Linked DNA regions of Homo sapiens: all the other regions are linked to region 1. Evidence: promoter capture Hi-C in 16 types of primary human blood cells and fetal thymus (Javierre and others, 2016). All regions are on one chromosome and are shown on one strand. The core of a region is centred on a gene start or on the middle of the fragment in contact, and the rest is flanking DNA. Distances in the headings are between cores, read along the strand shown.

The links. The method cuts DNA at HindIII sites, captures the fragments that hold promoters and counts their contacts. A CHiCAGO score of 5 or more calls a contact.
Region 2: a fragment that was not itself captured here is called in contact with the fragment with the promoter of CYP7A1 in region 1 in 1 of 17 cell types (neutrophils); the score reaches 5.1 in neutrophils.
Region 3: a contact is called between a fragment that was not itself captured here and the fragment with the promoter of CYP7A1 in region 1, in 1 of 17 cell types (neutrophils). The highest score is 5.9, in neutrophils.

Annotation. Positions count from the first base shown.
Region 1 is chr8:58,498,619-58,501,564 of GRCh38, reverse strand. CYP7A1 (cytochrome P450 family 7 subfamily A member 1) reads left to right here and starts at 1,402. Exons shown (of 6, transcript NM_000780.4): 1 at 1,402-1,546. The coding sequence starts at 1,467. RefSeq lists an enhancer at 971-1,192, a promoter at 1-1,426 and a silencer at 1,524-2,946. The HindIII fragment of the contact is 6,882 bases long and covers 1,036-2,946 here.
Region 2 is chr8:57,565,178-57,568,123 of GRCh38, reverse strand. No RefSeq gene overlaps it. Among named protein-coding and RNA genes, the nearest start is that of LINC03018, 180 kb to the left of the region's middle. The HindIII fragment of the contact is 1,085 bases long and covers 987-2,071 here.
Region 3 is chr8:57,917,264-57,920,209 of GRCh38, reverse strand. All of the region lies in intron 2 of LOC105375856 (a long non-coding RNA gene), which reads right to left. Among named protein-coding and RNA genes, the nearest start is that of LINC01602, 60 kb to the left of the region's middle. RefSeq lists enhancers at 302-812, 813-1,325. The HindIII fragment of the contact is 4,723 bases long and covers 1-2,946 here.

The DNA of each region.
Region 1 (2,946 bases), core at 153-2,652:
TACATTTATCCAATGGAAGATTAAGCACATATTCAATATAATTATTTATACACACATATAGATACACACATGTATAAATATAGAGAATACTGTGGGTGTATGTGTGTGTGTGTTTATATACATATATATACACACACAGTACTGTTGCCTACCTTCTTTTGTCTTAATTCTGTGAACTCTCATTCACTCTGCTTCAGTAGGATACATCCTTCTTTTTGGTTCTTAGACTCACCAAGTTGATCCTTGACTCAAGACATTGCATTTGCTGCTTCCTCTTCCTGGAATATCCTTCCTTCTGATATTCACATGAGTAGTCTCTTCTTGTCATTCAGATCTCAAATGTCACAATTTCAGAGAGCCCATCTCTGATCATCATATCTAAAGTTGTCCTCATTCCCCCATAGCTTTCTATACCATGTTTTATTTTTTTCATAACATGTATTTTATTACTCCTTTCTCCATTGGAATAGAATCTCCATTAGATTAGGAAATCTGCCTATCTTATTAATGCCTGCAACTGGAATACTTTTGAAGAGTTCTTGGCACGTAATAAATACTCAACTAATATTTTTGTGTACACAGAAATAAAGTTTGGAAGAACAGATGCCAAATTGTTACTAGTGGTTACTTCTGAGTAAAGGAGTAGCATGGTAGGTAAATTATTAATAGATGTTCACTTTCCACCAAGATATGTTTTAGTTAGTCTTAACTTACTTGAAATGAAATTTATTACTTTAATAATTAGAAACATTGATAAACATTTTAGTCACAAGAATGATAGATAAAATTTTGATGCTTCCAATAAGTTATATTTATCTAGAGGATGCACTTATGTAGAATACTCTCTTGAGGATGTTAGGTGAGTAACATGTTACTATATGTAGTAAAATATCTATGATTTTATAAAAGCACTGAAACATGAAGCAGCAGAAATGTTTTTCCCAGTTCTCTTTCCTCTGAACTTGATCACCGTCTCTCTGGCAAAGCACCTAAATTAATTCTTCTTTAAAAGTTAACAAGACCAAATTATAAGCTTGATGAATAACTCATTCTTATCTTTCTTTAAATGATTATAGTTTATGTATTTATTAGCTATGCCCATCTTAAACAGGTTTATTTGTTCTTTTTACACATACCAAACTCTTAATATTAGCTGTTGTCCCCAGGTCCGAATGTTAAGTCAACATATATTTGAGAGACCTTCAACTTATCAAGTATTGCAGGTCTCTGATTGCTTTGGAACCACTTCTGATACCTGTGGACTTAGTTCAAGGCCAGTTACTACCACTTTTTTTTTTCTAATAGAATGAACAAATGGCTAATTGTTTGCTTTGTCAACCAAGCTCAAGTTAATGGATCTGGATACTATGTATATAAAAAGCCTAGCTTGAGTCTCTTTTCAGTGGCATCCTTCCCTTTCTAATCAGAGATTTTCTTCCTCAGAGATTTTGGCCTAGATTTGCAAAATGATGACCACATCTTTGATTTGGGGGATTGCTATAGCAGCATGCTGTTGTCTATGGCTTATTCTTGGAATTAGGAGAAGGTAAGTAATGTTTTATCTTTAAATTGCTCTTTGATTCATCCATTTAATTTTTTTACCTTCATTTTTATACAGTAAATTTGGTTTTCTATACTTACACATATTAGCATTATCTTCCTTATTTTTTAAATGAAAAATTTGATTTGAATTTTTAAAGTAATATCTTTTTTACTATATCTCACAAGACATATGACAGCTTCCCTTTTTAGTATTGGCATATACCGATGGTAATATATAAATGTATATTGGTGTTAAACATAACTGACAGAAATTGTATAAGGTCTCTATGTACATTTATATGTGTATCTAAAGAGGAAGCCCAGATTAGTAAGGATACAAGTAGCAAGTGGGAATCTACAATGGAAAGGATTGCTTTCTCTCACATGGCTTCAATAGATACTCTTGTTAAATAAATGTTCTCTTTTAAGCTCATTCTTGTGCATCGCATAGACTCAGCCTAAGCCTGAACAAGAGCATAGAGCCTGAGCTGATCATTCTATTACTGTTTTTAAATAAATGTTAATCAACTGTGGTGAATTGGGAAAGTTTGCTGAGTGTATGTGACATCGATTTCATTTATTTACAACTGGTTCAAGAATGCAAGAAAAACAAATACAGTCAGATCCAGAACCATAGTTTATTTAACTTCTAATTGGCTCAAGGAGTAATTGTGGGGAGGCATATAGATATTCTCTGCTATGTCAATCTCAAAAAGAGAAAATAACCCTAACCATCTTTCAGCTTTGTAGATTGCTATGTGTTTTCTGCCTTTTGCAGTTTCTTTCAGGCCTGATAGTTTTTACTTTTAATTAAACTACTTATCTTCAAACTAAGAAAAGAAAGGTAATTACTTTATACTGTATTATTCTATCAAGAGGTACAGAAGTTTATGTTGGAAAATAAGTTTACATGTTCTAATAAAAACATTTTAAAGGAGCACTGAATTACAATAGATGATTCCGTCAGTGTTTATCTTACTCAATTTCATTTTATAATAAGCTGATTTCTCACATGAGATTCTTCTTCTCTGAAACCATCCTTATAGAATATAATATAGATATCTTTAAACTAGGAATATTTTCAAAACCTCAGTTCTGAAATCCTCCCTTATTCAGTGATCTGTGTCTTTAAAGAAAATAATCAAAAGAAACATTTTGAGATATTTAGAAAAATGATGCTTAGCAAAGTGATAAACACTAGAATGTAGTTTTGTTTCCGCACTGACAACAAGAATCTTGTTGGTCTTGTAAATCCTTTTGCCTGTATCACTGGGAAAAGTGATGAGCACATAGTAGACGGGTGCTTGTTGAATGTGTATATGGACGGATGCATGAATGGATGGATTTAGTAATCCTTTCCACCAACATATCATGTTACTAGGTTAATATAACCTATTACTGTAG
Region 2 (2,946 bases), core at 280-2,779, 930 kb after region 1:
GAAGCCCACTTGATCATGGTGGATAAGCTTTTTGATGTGCTACTGGATTTGGTTTGCCAGTATTTTATTGAGGATTTTTGCATCGATGTTCATCAGGGATATTGGTCTAAAATTCTCTTTTATTGTTGTGTCTCTGCCAGGCTTTGATATCAGGATGATACTGGCCTCATAAAATGAGTTAGGGAGGATTCTCTCTTTTTCTATTGATTGGAATAGTTTCAGAAGGAATGGTACCAGCTCCTCCTTGTACCTCTGGTAGAATTCGGCTGTGAATCCGTCTGGTCCTGGACTTTTTTTGGTTGGTAAGCTATTAATTATTGCCTCAATTTCAGAGCCTGTTATTGGTCTATTCAGAGATTCAACTTCTTCCTGGTTTAGTCTTGGGAGAATGTATGTGTCGAGGAATTTACCCATTTGAAAACCAAATACATATAATTAAATCCTAATTTAATTTTAAATTTCAGATAGAGTAAAAATTTAAAAAAAAAAAAATCATAGCCTTGAAGGTACAGTTAAGAAAGTTCTTTTGTTGAATAAGGAAAAATGCAAAATTATAAAATATTATTTACTGGATTACATTAAAATCAGTTTTTAAAATTAAAATAAAAGCCCATCAATTATATGTAAAGGAAACAACAAAAGGAGCATTTACAACACACATGTCAAGGAAATTTTAGTCTTAATATGTATAAAATCTCCCATCAATCAATAGGAAAAAATGAACACTACCAATAAGAACAATTATAAAAGAAAAAAAAAGAGAAAATTCACCAAGGAAGAAATTAAATAGCCTATGAGCATGAAAAAATTAATATCATTGGTGGAGAACACAAACTAAACAAAAAAATAAATGATGATGGATTAAGGAGGTGCTGAACATGTGGGGAAGTAGTCATTCTCATAGACTTGGGTAGAATGTAAGCTTTCTATGGGACAATTCCTTCCCTAGATGTTCCTGTCTTTCAGGCTCTGCCTTAGAGCAAGCTTCTCAGCCTGTGGGATAGCCGCCCTGCAGGCTGTAACCCTTTATAAGAAATAAAGTTTCCTTTCTAAATTTATGGATCTCATGATTTTCCAGTTGACACAGAAAATCTGCCTGAAAGCCTGAAATATTTAGTATCTGGCCCTTTATAGAAAAAGTATGTCAATCCCTGCCCTATGCAGACAAAAATACAGAAAGTCTACAAATAATATCTAAAATAAAAGGAATTATCTCTGGTATAGAAAATTTTAAATGATTTTTGTTTTTCTTTGTTATAGTTCTTGTATTATCCAAGGGAATATTTTCAAATTAATGAATTTTTAAATTAACAAATAAAAATTATATTTATTGTGTACAACTTGATGTTAAAAATTATGTATATATACGTGTGGAATAGCTAAATTGAGCTAATTAACATGCATTACCTCACATATTTATCCTTTTTTACACTATATCAGCATTAGCAATTTATTGTATGTTTATAAAAAGGAGAGACATACTTTAAAATATAAGTAATCATTTTCACTGGAGAGATAAAATTATGGTTAGTCTGCATGTCTTTTTTGACCTTTTTTCTGTATAGTTTTTATATTTTTAATACGATGACTATATGTTACTTACATAATCAGAAAATACTTTTACATGCATTTTAATCAAAGTCCTGAAATTTCTAATTTTTATTTTTCTGATTTCTTGGGGCATCTTTGTATTACATTTAACATCTTTTTACTTTTTCCTAATATGGGGCAAAACTTGCTGAAAGACTTTGACAATCAGAGTTTTTAATGTTACCTACTTTGAAGTTTAAGTCAAGTCACAAATTACAGCAGCCATCTGGTCTTAGTTATCTATAGTTTAAATCATGATATTTCAAAAGAAATAAATCCAGATATGCAAAATATACAAAAAGAAAGACCAGTTGTCAACTTTCCTTGTTTGCTGTGTTTTGCTTTTTTGGATCTGGATAAATTTACTCAAGTACTTTCAAACTCTCTGGAAAATGCCTATTCCTATATAACACACTCCTATTTTATAGATTATCAAATTTTAGAATTAGTTGAAAAGTGTCCTGTGTGATCTCACAAAGCTTTGCAATCATGATTTCAAAATTTAGTAAAAAAAAGCTCAAAACCAAAAATGCCAGCCCATCTTGAACATAGATGTGAAAGATAGCCTTCTATGAATGACTAGATAATTGATTTCAGCAATACATTAAAAGTTAGATAGTTTTGGAGATAGAACCAAACAAAACCCAAGGAACCACAGGAAGATGGAATGTCCACACCAAGGACATCTGTCCTCTCTGCAGTTACCGTCTCTGGGTGCAGAGCTCACTGTGTGGTTCTGTCTCTCAAAAGGACTGCGAACCACAGCCTGGGCCATCCCCCTCCCCTGGTTACACCCAGCTCAGCCAAATGCACTGCCATGCCCAGGCCTGGACACCTCTTTCTGAGACCTTCCCCAAACTTCAGAATTTGCATGTGTGGGTTTCATGATCAATGACTAGCTTGCGTTCCTGTTGTCTCTGGAACAGACTTCTATACGAAAGATCAAATGTCCCTTCCAGCTCATGTTCTCCCAGACAGAAACCAGCATGGATGCTTGCTCAGGAAGCAAGCTCACGTGCACCACCAGAAGGCCATCATCACAGTCGCATTTTTATCTACCTTTGCCTTGTTCCCTTGTAGTTCTTTGGTGGGGATATACCATAAGGCCTTAATTTCTAAACTATATTGATTTAGACACTACTCTTCAGAAAAAAAAAGTAAGAAACATATGCACATCTAATGTTTATATCAACTGACATGTATTTATTGGAGATCAAGGAGATCAGGTGAATGTGATTTTGGCATCAAATTTCCTCCAGTTTAAAACAGAGAGGGGTACCAGTAGATGCTGGGTTTAAAACAGAGAGAGGTACCAGTAGATGCTGGGCATGGATTTCAGCCACCATCAAGCAGTTT
Region 3 (2,946 bases), core at 186-2,685, 580 kb after region 1:
TCACACTGTCTGGCCAGCCCATGCTTGTCTCAGTTGTTCAGTAGGTTCAAAAAAAGTCGTGAATTTAAAGTGAGCATGGTTGATTTTGTTCTAATGGGGAACAAGGGTCTTCCAGCTCTCTGCAAGTTGGGCAGATGCAGAAACTCTCTGTTTGCATTTTAGTTAATTTTTTTTTTTTTTTGCTCTTTTCTTTATATACTTTATCTTTTACTTTTTTGGGTTTATCTTGCTGGGCAATTTTTTCCTCCGAAATATTATAAGTTATGTGTTTAGTTTATTGCAACAAAACAAACTCTAATAGGCCTATATGGTAAATCAACACTATTGCTACAACCCTGTAAATAAGGCCAAAGCTAATGAGACCAACCTTGCTTTGTGATCATGAATAATCCTTCTGTTTTAGTATTTTTGATCAGAAGGAGGGTGACTTTAAGAAAAAAATTGCCCTTCTATGGAAACCTATGCATTGTCTATAAATAGCACACCCTTCCGGGTTATCTGATTCTATACTTTCATTTACTAGGAATTATTTTACAACTCTGCAAGTTGTAGGTAACTGATAGCAATGCAAAATAATTTTTGATTGTAGACATGCAGATTCTGTTCTGCCTGGTAGAGGTTTAACTTCCTTTCTCCTCTGTGAAAAATAAGTTTTTTTGTTTGTTTGTTTTTCTTTTTTTTTTTTTTTTTTTTTTGAGACGGAGTCTAGCTCTGTAGCCTAGGCTGGAGTGCAGTGGCGCGATCTCGGCTCACTGCAAGCTCCGCCTCCCGGGTTCAGGCCATTCTCCTGCCTCAGCCTCCCAAGTAGCTGGGACTACAGGCGCCTGCAACCACGCCTGGCTAATTTTTTTTTATTTTTAGTAGAGATGGGGTTTCACTGTGTTAGCCAGGACGGTCTCGATCTCCTGACCTCGTGATCCGCCCGCCTCGGCCTCCCAAAGTGTTGGGATTAAAGGCGTGACCCACCGCGCCCGGCCGGAAAATAAGTTTTACGTCAATTTACACATTCTTTTCAATATTCCTAATCTAAAAATGTGTCTGTTCTTTGGATTCTCATTTGAATCTTCTTGGTTTTCTTACTGATTAAAGAATTAAATATTTAACACAAGTCAGTTTTATATCTGTATGAGAATCACGGTTTTACCTTTAACGAACCTTATTGATACGGTTTGGCTCTGTGTCCCCATCCAAATCTCACCCTGTAGTTCCCATAATTCCCATGTGTTGTGGGAGGGACCTGGTGAAAGATGATTGAATCACGGGGGCAGGTCTTTCCAGTGCTGTTCTCTTGATAGTGAATGGGTCTCATGAGATCTGATAGTTTTAAAAACAGGAGTTCCTCTGCACAAGCACTTTTTGCCTGCTACCGTCCACGTAAGGTGTGATTTGCTCCTCCTTCTCTTCCGCCATGATTGTGAGGCTTCCACAGCCATGTAGAACTGTGAGTTCTTCATTAAACCTCTTACCTTTGTAAATTGCCCAGTCTCAGGTATGCTTTAGCAACAGCGTGAAAACGTGCTAATACAATTTTCTTTTTTTTTTTTTTTTTTTGGAGACGGAGCCTCACTCTGTCGCCCAGGTTAGAGTGCAGTGGCGTGATCTCGTCTCCTTGCCACCTCCACCTCCCGGGTTCAAGCCATTCTCCTGCCTCAGCCTCCCGAGTAGCTGGAATTACAGGCACGTGCCACCATGCCTGGCTAATTTTTGTATTTTTAGTAGAGACTGTGTTTCACCATGTTGGTCAGGCTGGTATGGAACTCCTGACCTCGTGATCTGCCCACCTCGGCCTCCCAAAGTGCTAGGATTACAAGAGTGAGCCACCGCACCTGGCCACTTATCTTTTAACAAGGCTATGGATTTGTCACTAAGTAATGCTTTTGCTACATTTCACAAGTTTTGTTAGAAAACATTTTAGTCACTGGTCATTTATAAATGTTTTATACTTTGCATTATTCTTCTTTGATCTCTGACTTGTTTAGAATTTTGCCAGATTTGTAAACATGTTTTTTTCTCTTGGTTTATTTTGTCTTTGACTTGTAACTAATTTGCATTGTGGTCTGAGAATACACTCTGTATCTATCTTGCCATCCTTTGAAATTTGTTAACGTTAACTTAATGGTTTAGAATGTAGTCAGTTTTCAAAACTATTCTATTTGTGCTTTAAAAGAATGTAAATTATTTAATTATGGGATGTAATATTCTCCATATGCCCATTGGATGAAACATATTAATTTTTCTTTCTAAATCTTTTATGGCTAATTTTATTGTCTGCTTTATCTATTGAGTACTGAGAGAGAGGTATTAAGTATTCCATTGGGATAATGGATTTATTTATTTCTTGTAGTTCCATTAAGTTATGTAAGTGCAGAATTGAGTCATATGTTATTTTAGAATTGTTATATCTTCCAGTAAAATGAGCCTTATATCATTATGAGACTTTTGATCCCTTTTTGCTCTAAAGTCTGTTTTGTTTGTTATTATTATGCCCACCTTACTTTCTTTTAGTTAGCGTTTGTTTGATGTACTAGTTAAGATACAGGCTAAATTACAGTAACACAGATTCCCACCTAAGAATGGCTTAAATAAGAGAGAAGACTATTTCTCCCTAATCTGCAATGATCTGAAGGTAGGTAGTACAGGGATTATAGAGCCCAGGTGCCTTCTGTCTCAATGCTTTGCCAGCCTTCTCGTGATGACCTTATTCACATGGTCAAAGATGGTTCACCCCAACCCTGACTCCCTCTTCTCTGTTCTGTTGAGAAGGAGGTAAAGTGGAGTGGGAGGCATATGTATTTGAAGATTTGACCTGGAAGCTACGTAAGTCACTTCAGTTCACGTCTTATTGGCCATATCTAACTATAAGAGAGGTTAACGAACATGGTATTTAGCAAGATGTGCATGCGTCTAGTTAATATTTGGACATTGAAGGAGAATCACGGTCTGTTA